Linked DNA regions of Homo sapiens: regions 1 and 2 are each linked to region 3. Evidence: promoter capture Hi-C in human tissues and cell types (Jung and others, 2019). All regions are on one chromosome and are shown on one strand. The core of a region is centred on a gene start or on the middle of the fragment in contact, and the rest is flanking DNA. Distances in the headings are between cores, read along the strand shown.

Region 1 (3,919 bases), core at 668-3,167, 490 kb before region 3:
CAGCCTCCAAGTCCCGCCCTGGCACAGACTGGGATTCCTCCGCAGCCCCGCCTCCCAGGATGGGAACTCCAGCAAGCCCCCACCTACAGGTCAGGGCTGCGGGGAGGGGGAGTGCTTCTGTGGCTCTCAGCTTTCCTGCCTCTACAATGGGCGGGTGTGGTCTTAGAAGGGGCCCTCTGAGCTCGCAGGGCAGCCCCCTGGGCCGGCCCCGCCTCTGGCCGCTGTCTCCCTCCCGCCCTCTCTTCCCCTCTTTCTGGTGCCAGGGTTCCCACAGGCAGGAAGGGACTTCGGGGGCCACCCCGAGGGTCAGGGGGATGCTCAGGGGCTCGGGTGTCTCCTGGTTCCGGATCCCAGGGGTCCCGGGGAGGCGGAGGGCCGGGCGGGGACACTGACCCGTGCCGTAGAGCATGGCTAGCATGATGGAGGACACCCAGGCCGTGTCGCTGTAGCCGGCGTCGAAGTCGCGCATGAGCGCGCGGAAGAAGACGCTCACGGCTTTGGGGAAGCCGTAGGCGAAGCCGGTGACCACAAAGCAGGCGCCCAGCACCACCCAGCCCCAGCCGCCGTCTGGGGGGCCCTCGCCCCGCCGGGGGCCGCCAGCGCCCATCGCTGCCTCTGTTGGGAGGGGGCGGGGACAAGAGGGAGGGGCTGGGCCAGCAGCCTAGAGAAGGAGGGGGATGGAGACGAAGCATGGGGAAACTGAGGCACAGGGCTACCCACGTGAGGGTGGCTCAGGTCTGGGAACCAAAAGGGGAAACGGAGGTAGGACTCTCACCCCAAGTCTCCTTCTCCTGCAAAGGGCGCTGAAGGACGAGGGGAGGACGACGGGTCCCACCTGACTCTGCACCTCTGCAGGCTCCCTCTGAAGGACAACTGCTGGCCCCTCAGGGCCTCAGGTGGAAGGCGTCGGGAAGTGGAGCAGGTATGTGCCTGGAGGTGGGCGTCCAGCACCAAAGTCGCCCCGTACGCGTGAGGGTCTCGGGACAACAGAACAAACAGCAGAGGGGCAGATGCCGGCTGCAAAGGGCCGCTGTGCGTGATTTTCCTCTTTAGCCTTCCGCCATGTTCCTAATGTTTCTCAGTGATCACAAATGACTATTGTCATTAGAACATTAAGGGGACAAAAGCCACTTTCAACAGATATCAGCCAGGGGAGCTGAGTTCCCATGCATCTCAGCTCAGCCATGGATTCCCTCCCTGACTTGGGCCGGTCGCCTCCCCTCTCCCAACCTCCCTTTCCTCCGATGTAAGATGGGTGATTGATCACCCCGAGGCCAGCTGGGAATCTTGCGGGAGAGGAGTCAGGTCTCTGGCTTCTGCCAGACAGGTAGGAACCTTAGCAGCACTGAGAGAGTGGCCTTCTGCCCTCCAAACCTCAAACCCTCTATATGAAAAGAATGGCTCCAAAGCCTGTCTCATTCCTGGGGCTCCACCCGGGGCCCTCACAGCAGTTACAAGCGCCCCCATAACAGATGAGGAGGGTGTACTCAGAGACAGGTGCACCAGGAGCCGGGGGCTGGGGATAGCCTCCTGCCCTCCTGCCTGGAGTGTCCCTCCTGGCACTGGGCAGTGCCACCACCCCCAGGGTATCCGGGACTCTGCCCCTCCTCCACTAGGACCAGGTTGTGGCTTTTCCTGCCTGTTGTCCTCTTGTCACAGGGGCAGCCACTTGAAGGTGGAGACAGGAGGGTGATCCCAGGCAGCCCTCACATCACACTCACCTGAGCCTGCCTCGTGGGTTTGGGGGTCCAGCCTCACATCTCCTGAGGCCTGCAGGGAGGGGCCGCCGCCGCAGCTCCCGGTGAAGCTTACCCGGATGGGGGCTGCCAGACACCCCAGCTTCCCACCAGCCTGGGCTGAGCCTCTGGCCGACTCCCGCCTGACGCTCCCTGCCCCAGGCCTGGAGCTTAGAGTGTGTGCCCCCACCACACCTCACCCCTGCTAAGAGGCTTTTGTCCAGGAGGGGAGAAGAGACTGGGAGCCCCAGGCCAGGCTGGGCCTCGGCGGTGGGCTCCCTGTCCCAAGCCAGTCCAGGAGGGAGGAAGAGAATCCCTGTGCCTCCTGGAGCCTGGGGTGGTAGACACAGAGACCTTGCCCAGGGGGTCCTAGTCTGGTGCTGGGGGCACAGCCCTGCCCTGAAGAGACCCCAACGGTTCTAATCACCTCAGTGCCTCATCTGCCCCCGCCCCAACCCCCCGCCCCAGGCCACATTCCAGGAGGGGCTGGCAGCTTTCTCTAGAATGAAGCTAATCCACGCCTGTGCCTGGGAATGTGGGGGGGGGAGGGGCCAAAACAAAGGGTGCTGTGTCCAGGCCGCCTGAGGGCAGCTTGCTGGTGGTCCCAGCCCTTGGCCACTGCCACCTCTCCCCTGACCCGAGCAGCCGCTACTTCCTAGGAAACCCACAGGTCGAAATGAGAGCAGGTGGAGATGGGGGCTGCAGCGCGAGGGCTTTGGGGCAGCCCTAAAGAGTTCTCCAAACAAACAAACAAGGGGCTGGGAGTGAGATGGCTTCCCGGGGAACAGCCAGGACCTCAGTACCCCCTAGACCCCATTCTCCAATGGGGGAGTCTCTATCCCTCACCCCCTGCCCTGTCCCCCAAATAAGACACCACCAGTCCTGCTGCCGCATCACTTTGCGTCCACTTCCTTTATTTCTCATCATTTACAAAAGATGTACAGAGAGGGCATGTGTTGGGCACGGAGCAGGTACAAGGGGCTCCTCCCCACGGGGGCAGAAAAGGGGGAAAGAGGTTAGGGGGCAAGAGGTGGGCCCCCCAGGGAGAGTCCTGGAGCCCCTGGAGGGGGAGAAATTGTCCTGTCCCCCCATTCCGCCTGCTTTACTTTGAAGGTCTCGGACCCCAAGCCAGTGCTTTGGAGCTGCTCAGGCTGCCGGGGTGGTCTGGGGAGGGCAGCCACCCCCCGTCTCAGGGACCCGCTTCTTGGATCTGCTGCTGTTGCTGCTGTCGCTGCCATTGCCAGCTCTGAACAGCCCCTGGGCAGGTGCACTGTGGGGTACGACCTCGGACCCCGCCTCAGCGGATGAGGGGTGCTGAGCGGTCATTGGTGATGGTGGGACGAAGCTTGACAGTGGCAAAAGGATTTGTGCCCCTGTAGGAGGAGAGAGAGAATGGGGTGAGAAGGGCAGATGATCCCCACCTGGCCATGGCTCAGGAAGGCAGCTGGGCAACTGAGCTGGGTCCTGCCTCCTGCCCCTATTTGGTCTCCATCCACTCCTTGCCCCGCTTCATCTTTTTTTTTCTTTTAAGAGATAGGGTCTCACAGTGTTGCTCAAGCTGATGTTGAACTGTTGGAATCAAGAGATCCTCCTGCCCCAGTCTCCCTAGTAGCTGGGACTACAAGTGTGTGCCGCCGCACCTGCCACCCTCCTCACTGTTTGGGCCCCCATGTGAGGACTCACCTCGGGAAGAGCTCCTGTGGTGGGTACTGCTCTGAGGACATCAGTTTCTGCAGTGGGGGTGGGGAAGGGCTGGTTTGGTGGGGAGAGGGGCAAGCAATCCCTTGCTCCTCCCCTCCCTCTCCCCATGCCCAAGGGCAGAGGACTGGGCCAGAGAGCCCCTGCCATGCCAGGCTCCTGGAAAATGAGACCCTGACGTTCTGAAGCCCAGAATTCTGTGGGTTGCAGAAGTGAGAAACCCCTAGGCCAGAGCACCACCTCCAAGGACTAACCACGCCCCCAGGATAAGACCGGGGTGGCTCCATCGGAGATGCCCTCCCTGGCCTCCCCCAGCCCCGTCCTACTGGCTAGCCCCAGGCCACACCCTGTCCTGGGACCCTGGTCTTCCCCTTCAGCCCAGACTCAGCCCCACACCACCCCTCCCTGCACTGAGGAACAGACTGAGTGAGGCCAGGTAGGCGGGTCCCCTGCCAGACAGCCGGTGACAGAGCCTCGGGATCCCT
Region 2 (3,572 bases), core at 344-2,843, 400 kb before region 3:
CAGCCTCTCAAAGTGCTGGGATTACAGGTGTGAGTCACCGTGTCTGGCCTAAAATGTTCTTGATACACCATCACCAGATGCCAGGTTCTCTCTCCTTGCTCTGGGCTCTCCCTCACTTTAAACACATCTGTACTATCACAGCCCAGCATGTTACAACTGCCCCTCCTGCCAGACGGTAAGCTTCGTCATCCTCCTACCAAACACTCCTGTGCATCTTGCTGGCACCATCCTGAAAGCTTTACGTACATTAATCATTCTGTCTGACAACCACTCTATGAACTGGTTACTATTATTATCCTCATTTTACATATGAGAACACCAAAGAACAGAGGGGTAAAGTCACGGGCCCAGGGTCACCCAGCTAGTGGGTGGAGCAGTGAAAGCTGGCACCCAGATGGGCTGGCCCAGAGTCTGAGTTTCTCAAAGGCAGCTGCTCGTCTTTTCATCTCCGTCCACAAGCTTGGCTCACAGAAAGTTTGTCAAAACAAAAATTTAACTGAGTAAATATTATGCATAGAAAAAACAAAGCCTGATAGAAAACAAACCAAGATAGACTGACAGAAAACATGCCATTGAGTAGATGAGGGTGCTGGGTTTATGGGCTTTTGTTTTTTCCTTTTCCCTATTTTCCAGATGCTATGTAAAGCGATTATAGTTTTCAAAGGAAGTAGCAGTATAGGCTGAGCCTCTGGGGGCTGCAGCCGGGAAGATGGGGACCTGTGGGACTCAGGCCTGGCCTGGAAGAGCGCAGAGAGGCTACCCCGAGGACGGGCCCACAGGGACGCGGAGGGGTGCGCCCAGGAAGGGCAGAGAGTCAAGAGCATCCAGCACCCATGAGCCTCAGATTGAGGGAGAAAGTCACCAGGGGTGCAGTGAAATCAAAGAAAGATTCCACACACCCCTTCGTCAATGGCCCAGCCTGTGTACCCCCCACCAGAGCCTGGGGCTAGGGGATGCCCCCCACACACCCACGACAGCATGGCCACAGAAACGACAGGCTTGGCTGGCATCCAGCCTTCAGGGTAGGCAGGAGGACGAGATGACGCAATGGAGGGAAGGTGTCTGGGACACAGGCCGACTGTGGGCACACAAACAGTGGCCATTGTTATCACTAGGTGGAAGAAAGGAAATGACAGCCACGGGGCCACATCCTGGAACACTCACGGCATTGCCAACCAGGAAGGCGGGCCAGCAGGGAGAAAGTGCTCACACGTGCTTCCTTCTGTCCCTGCCACCTTGGACCCTGGAGCCTAGGCTCTTCCCAGCACAGCTGCAAGAGGGGGATGGTGGATGAGGGCCCCCCGCATCATGCCTCACTTCATCTCTCCCCCTGGCTTCTCACAGCGTCCTACCCTTGACCTTCCCGTGGGGTAGACAATCACTTTTCCCCACTGATGACCGGCCCCTCCTCCTCCTTACCTGGGCTTCTCCCTGCACCCCCAGGATGCCCAGGTCACCTGACACAGACCGCACCTCGGCTGTGTCAAGCAGCTCTCTCAAACACCACAAGCAGAAAGACAAAGACCCAAGACCTTTGGTGGTGGGGGTTGACAGTGACAATTCTGCCTGTCCAAGCCAGGCAATTTCCAGGTACCAATTTTGGTGCCCCTGCTGAGGGAAGCCAGATATTTCTGGCCGTTTTCCTTATCTCTGCTCACCCATCCTCTGTCAAAACCAAGCTTGCCTGCTGGGTTCATTGAGGGAAGACTGACAGAGAGTGTGCTGGTGTGAGGGTCCCCTGGAGGAGCTGAAGGACGGGAGGAACAAGTATTATTATCCCATCTTCCCATCTCAGAGATCAAGAAACTGAGGCCCAGAGAGGCCCTGAATTGTACATGTTCAAAGGGCAAATTAAGGCCGGGCACAGTGGCTCGTGCCTGTAATTCCAGCATTTTGGGAGGCTGAGGCAGACGGATTGCTTGAGCCCAGGAATTTGAGACCAGCCTGGGGAACATGGCAAAACCCTGTCTCTACAAAATATAAAATAAAATTAGCTGGGCATGGTGGTGTGCGCCTGTGGTCCCAGCTACTCGGGAGGCTAAGGCAAGAGGATTGCTTGATCCTCTTGAGGTCGAGACTGCAGTGAGCCAAGATTGCACTACTGCACTCCAGCCTGGGAGACAGAGCAAGACCCTGCCTCAAAAACAAAACAAAACAAAGGGCAAATTAAAGTTGATGTCCACCAAAAAACAAAAACAAACGGGCTGGGCGCAGTGGCTCACGCCTGTAATCCCAGCACTTTGGGAGGTTAAGGCGGGCGGATCACGAAATCAGGAGATTGAGACCATCCTGGCTAACATGGTGAAACCCCGTCTCTACTAAAAATACAAAAAAAATTAGCTGGGCGTGGTGGCGGGTGCCTGTAGTCCCAGCTATTCGGGAGGCTGAGGCAGGAGAATGGCGTGAACCCGGGAGGCGGAGCTTGCAGTGAGCCGAGATCATGTCACTGCACTCCAGCCTGGGCGAGAGCGAGACTCTGTCTCAAAAAAAAAGAAAGAAAGAAAAACAAACGAAGAAACAAAAAACCTCGAGTGGGAACAGAGGGAGATTGGAGCCAATGGTAGCATCTCTGATGAGTTCCCTGGAAGTGACTACCTGGGTTCATAAAACAGTCAACAGAGAGACCCAAGACCAGTCCCTGTCTCGCCAAGTGCACGGTCCCCTGAGGGAAGGACCCCTAAAGGGGATGACTTTTTAGCTGAACTTTCCAGGAAGAACAGGAGTTTGCCAGCGGGGGAAATGGCGAGAGGCCTTCACAGCAGATGAAGCAGATCAGAACACGGAGGAAGGCAGAGATCAGGGGCTTGCTCAGCCCACCCATGAACGGTGAGCATTTTCACTGGGACTGGACGGCTCGAGAGGGGAAGGTGCTGAGAGGAGGGGCCGTGGTTAGTGCTGTGATCAACGTGAACACAGGTCACCTGGAGCCACTTGTCCAGGGCTGCTATGTCAGTCACGCCCCTCGCCATGCCCAGGGAAGCTCCTCTCATGACGAGGAGCCAAGCCCCGGAAGAAGTGCAGTAGAGGACAAGGGACCAAGAGGGTGGCTCAGAGCGGGTGGTGAGGGAGAACTCAGTCCCAAAAATCTGGTTCCTCCTCAGCTACGAATTCCCTGAAGGACCCTGGGCAGGTCTCAGGCACGGGAGGAGCGGTCCCTGCCCTCTGATTGCTGCTACCTGCCGCAGCTGCCAGGCCCAGGCAGTCCCCTCTCCTCCCCTTTGGAAGGTCTGTGTGAAAACTGCTTTTCTGTAGTGAAAGGGGCCTGCACTTGCGTCCTCCCTGGAATGCGCTCTCCAGTTCCTGCTGGAGCCCCTGCTCATCCTTCAAGGCCCAGCTGCCCCCTCTGAATGCTCAGAGCACCAGAGTGCCCTTCCAGCCTGCACGGTTCCCAACCCAGCCTGACACCCCTCCATGCCCACTGTACGATGCAAATCCAGCTGCAGGTCTCCCTGCTGACCCTGGCCAGTGGCGCCCCATGACCTCCCAGGGAAAGCCCAGACTCCAGCATCCATGAGAGCTGGCCCAACTCACCCCTCCAACTCATCCCTCACCTCTACTCCAGCCACGCCGCA
Region 3 (3,595 bases), core at 400-2,899:
ATTTAGTTTCTTCTCTTTCCCCAACAGTGATCACTTATCATCTGGTTTCCATTGCACAGCTAATCATGACTTTATTACTGCCTTGAATGTTATTTAGAATTGCATATTGCTTTTAACCTTTCTTGTTTATGTTTAACAACAATACTCTAGGAACCTTGACATTATATCATTCTTCCTTGTGTCCTCCCTGACACCTCCAACTTTGTCCTCAATAAATGGATTCTATTTTTCTCATCTATGATGAATGCCTTCCTGCCTGCTGATTATGAATGGGTACTCCTGTAACATCCACCTTTTTGTTTCATAGAACATTAGCTATACTTTCTTTCACAGTATTTACTAGTTTCATGATTTTTTTAAGATTTAAAAATATGGTGGTCCGGGTGTGGAGGCTCATGCCTGTAATCCCAGCACTTTGGGAGGCCGAGACAGGCAGATCACGAGGTCAGGAGTTCGAGACCAGCCTGGCCAATCCCCGTCTCTACTAAAAATACAAAAAAATTAGCCGGGCGTGGTGGTGGGCGCCCGTAATCCCACCTACTTGGGAGGCTGAGGCAGGAGAATCGCTTGAACCTGGGAGGCGGAGGTTGCACTGAGCCGAGATCATGCCACTGCACTCCAGCCTGGGCGACAGTGCGAGACTCAGTCTCAAAAAAAAAAAAAAAAATTGGTGGATCATAATATTATATTAAGGCTGATAAGCAGTTAAAGTTTTTAACATTGTAGACTCAAAAAGAAATCTCAGGAATCCACAAGGCGTGATTGTGTTTATTTATTACAATAAAATGCGGTCCAAATCATCATTTTTCTTGGTCGATTCCATTTCCTCATTTGATACCAAAGTCAGGGGTTGGACCCTAGAACAAAGGGAACGAACCATTAATACTAAGGCAGGAGCAGGGTCCTACCACCCAGCACCTCAAACGGCAAAGGATGGAAGGCAACCGAGACCGTTCGGATGGGATCTTCGGGGACACTGTCCTTCAGATGGCTAGCTATGAGTACCCCAATTCCACATTTACTGTCCCCATCGAAGAGAAAAACAGCATTCATTTCTTCTCCCCGTGATGAAATGAAAAGATTGTCCCCCATCTCTCAAGGAGCCGTTGATAGACTGAACCGTTGGATTGAAAGTAGGGCTCCCCAATCCCCCGGTTTAAGACGACCCAGCTGTCCCCTCTGGTGGGGGCAGCAGCGCGGTCGGGTCGCCCTCGACGCCTCCCTCAGCAGGAGGCCTGGGCAGACCCCCTGCGGCCGCCGGACATTTTCCTGACACCGGATTCCCTGGTCAGGAGGATGAGGCGGGCTCTCCTAGACTCAGGTCCGATTCGATTGAAAATGAGGTTGGAAATCCCTCAAGATCACTAAAATTCCTCCCCAAAGGTCGGAGCGGAACGCTCAAAGTCACTAGCCCAGGGACCCCAAAAAAGGAGCGAGAAAGGGAAGCGCGCCTTCTCAAAACGAGCGTCCCCTCAGAGTCTTCGCACGCTGTTCGTTTTTGCCACTTACCCCCCTCGTACCCACAGTCTCCCCGAGATTTTCAAGGTGAAGCCCCTCTGCCCCGCCCGACCTCCTCAGCTGACAGGATTCTAACTCGGGCCTAGAACACGGAGCCTGGAGACCCGCGCGCCGTTGACCACAGGGTTTGGCGCCAAACGAGGAGGGCGGGGCGAGGACCAAGGGGCCGGGGCGGGGCGCAGGGTGAGGGTGGAAGGGCGGGGAGGGAGCAGGCCTACAGAGGGCGACGAGGGGCGGGGAGCAATGGGGGCGGGGCGAAGACCGAAGGGCGGGGAACGAGCGGGCTCACAGGTGGGGGGACCAGAGGGCGTGGCCTGGAGGGGGCTCAGGGCGAGGGGGCGGGGCGAGGGCTGAGGCGCGGAAAACGAAGAGGAGCCCCAGCGGGTGGCGAGCTGGGATGACGGAGGGAGGGAGGGAGGGGCGCTGTGGAAGGAGCGCGCTGAGGAGCGGGGCCTTGAAGGGAGACCGTTGAGCTGGGGCGTCCCTCGAGCTGAGCACCTCGCTAAAGTCCGGGAGAAGACCCTGAGGCGGGGTTCTGAGGAGGTAGCCTTGAGTCGGGGGAGGGGCGATGAGCAGAGGTGGCTGACTTTGGCGATAGGTCTTGGTCGCGAGGGTTGCAGATGGAGCCTTGGCTTAGAAGGTCGAATCCGGGCCCGTTTCCCCCCGCCCCCGCTGCCCATGGCTTCTCTTTTCACCTCCAGGTTTTCATGCTGGCTTCAGAGTTTGGCCGTGCTCCCTCAGCGTTCCTAATTTCCCACTTTCTGACTCTCACCATTTGCCACTCTTGTCTGTGATTGAGACACCCGAGGCCCATTCAGGATGGAGAGTAATTTTTTCTCTGTCTTAACTTGAAGTTTTAAATAGACCACAGACGCCAAGTATATTTTGGTTCAGCTTTTAAATAGAAGTCGCAGGCCAGCCTTCGTGCCAGCAGCGCCATCGCTGGCAGCATCCTCCTCCTCCCCTCACGCGGAGACTGACTTGGGGAGAGTCAGGAAACATTTGAGAGAGCAGCTGCCGAGGTGGAGGCTGTGATGTATCTTGGATGAATCTCTGTGCAAACAGTTCTTTGGGTTCAAGACCTAGTACAGGGCGATCCTTTTTGTTTTTTCTGTCTGAATCATTTTGGTGGAATAAATAGCAAAACATTCCCACAATAGCAGTTGGCATTTTGTGTAGGACGCACCCCCCCAACAGGTGGATTGTTTTAAGAGCCAACAAATAACTGCCATTGTGCTTCCAAATCTGTTATTTTCCCCCAAACACAGTCGTCCTTGTTATATGGAGATGAATGCCCATTTGGGGGAGGAACTGGATAGTGGTGAAAGGCTTTCGCTCTGAGGCCTCACCTAAATAATTATGGGAACTTTTGAGCAACTCGTTAGGTGAAGACATCAACAGTCTACAGAAGAGCTGCAAAGAGCACAGCAAGATGATTTAGGGAAATATAACATATGTAGTTTGGTGTAGTGACAGCTGGGAGAGAGAAATGTTCATAATATTTGAAGGTTGTGTGCAGTACACTTAAAAAAACTAAAATGAGCTGGGTAATGACAAATTCATGAAGGGAGGAGAAAAATCTTATCTGGGTATCATATCGATGGTTAGAGACAACTTTTAAGATATTTAAAACAACAACAAACTCTAGGACAGTTAAAAAGTGCACATGAAGACTTTCCACTAAAATCGGAACCAAAAAAATTGTCTTTCGTATCATACAAAAACTCTGAATATCATGAAGGTGGCATTTCACATCAGTGGAGAAATGATGAATTCAGTGAATAGTGTTAGAACAACTAGGTAACCATCTGGAAGAAAAATAAAATTGGAACCACACTTTACACATTATACCAAAATAAATTCCAGACAGATCAAAAAATTAAATCTGAACAATAAAATAATAAAAGTACTAGAAGAAAATATGGGATATTTAAAATTACTTTGTAATAAGAAACATCTTTTTAAGTATGCTACAAAACTCAGAAGCCATGAAAGATTGTTAAGTATGCTTATATTTAAAAAAATATATCCTGCATGGCAAAATGGTACTTTCCTATCCACAATATAGAACATGGCA

Evidence for each region. The method cuts DNA at HindIII sites, captures the fragments that hold promoters and counts their contacts. A contact is called where the count stands out against the background at its distance.
Region 1: the fragment with the promoter of SLC16A8 here is called in contact with the fragment with the promoter of DMC1 in region 3 in 4 of the 25 tissues and cell types used here (H1 embryonic stem cells, IMR-90 fibroblasts, dorsolateral prefrontal cortex and 1 more).
Region 2: a contact is called between a fragment that was not itself captured here and the fragment with the promoter of DMC1 in region 3, in 9 of the 25 tissues and cell types used here (H1 embryonic stem cells, IMR-90 fibroblasts, dorsolateral prefrontal cortex and 6 more).

The regions. Positions count from the first base shown.
Region 1 is chr22:38,082,267-38,086,185 of GRCh38, forward strand. SLC16A8 (solute carrier family 16 member 8) reads right to left here and starts at 1,918. Exons shown (of 6, transcript NM_013356.3): 1 at 1,722-1,918; 2 at 776-1,095; 3 at 394-615. The coding sequence starts at 607. It overlaps BAIAP2L2 (BAR/IMD domain containing adaptor protein 2 like 2), which reads right to left. Exons shown (of 14, transcript NM_025045.6): 13 at 3,420-3,466; 14 at 2,634-3,109. The coding sequence ends at 3,034. RefSeq lists a silencer at 377-426 and enhancers at 1,402-2,183, 3,744-3,919. The HindIII fragment of the contact is 9,296 bases long and covers 1-3,919 here.
Region 2 is chr22:38,171,913-38,175,484 of GRCh38, forward strand. All of the region lies in intron 1 of PLA2G6 (phospholipase A2 group VI), which reads right to left. Among named protein-coding and RNA genes, the nearest start is that of PLA2G6, 8.1 kb to the right of the region's middle. RefSeq lists an enhancer at 2,198-2,342 and a cis regulatory region at 2,270. The HindIII fragment of the contact is 3,596 bases long and covers 1-3,391 here.
Region 3 is chr22:38,568,534-38,572,128 of GRCh38, forward strand. It overlaps DMC1 (DNA meiotic recombinase 1), which reads right to left and starts at 1,650. Exons shown (of 14, transcript NM_007068.4): 1 at 1,510-1,650. It overlaps LOC105373031 (a long non-coding RNA gene), which reads left to right and starts at 1,967. Exons shown (of 2, transcript NR_134627.1): 1 at 1,967-2,061; 2 at 2,220-2,825. RefSeq lists a silencer at 1,646-1,935 and enhancers at 2,239-2,749, 2,336-2,385. The HindIII fragment of the contact is 22,042 bases long and covers 1-3,595 here.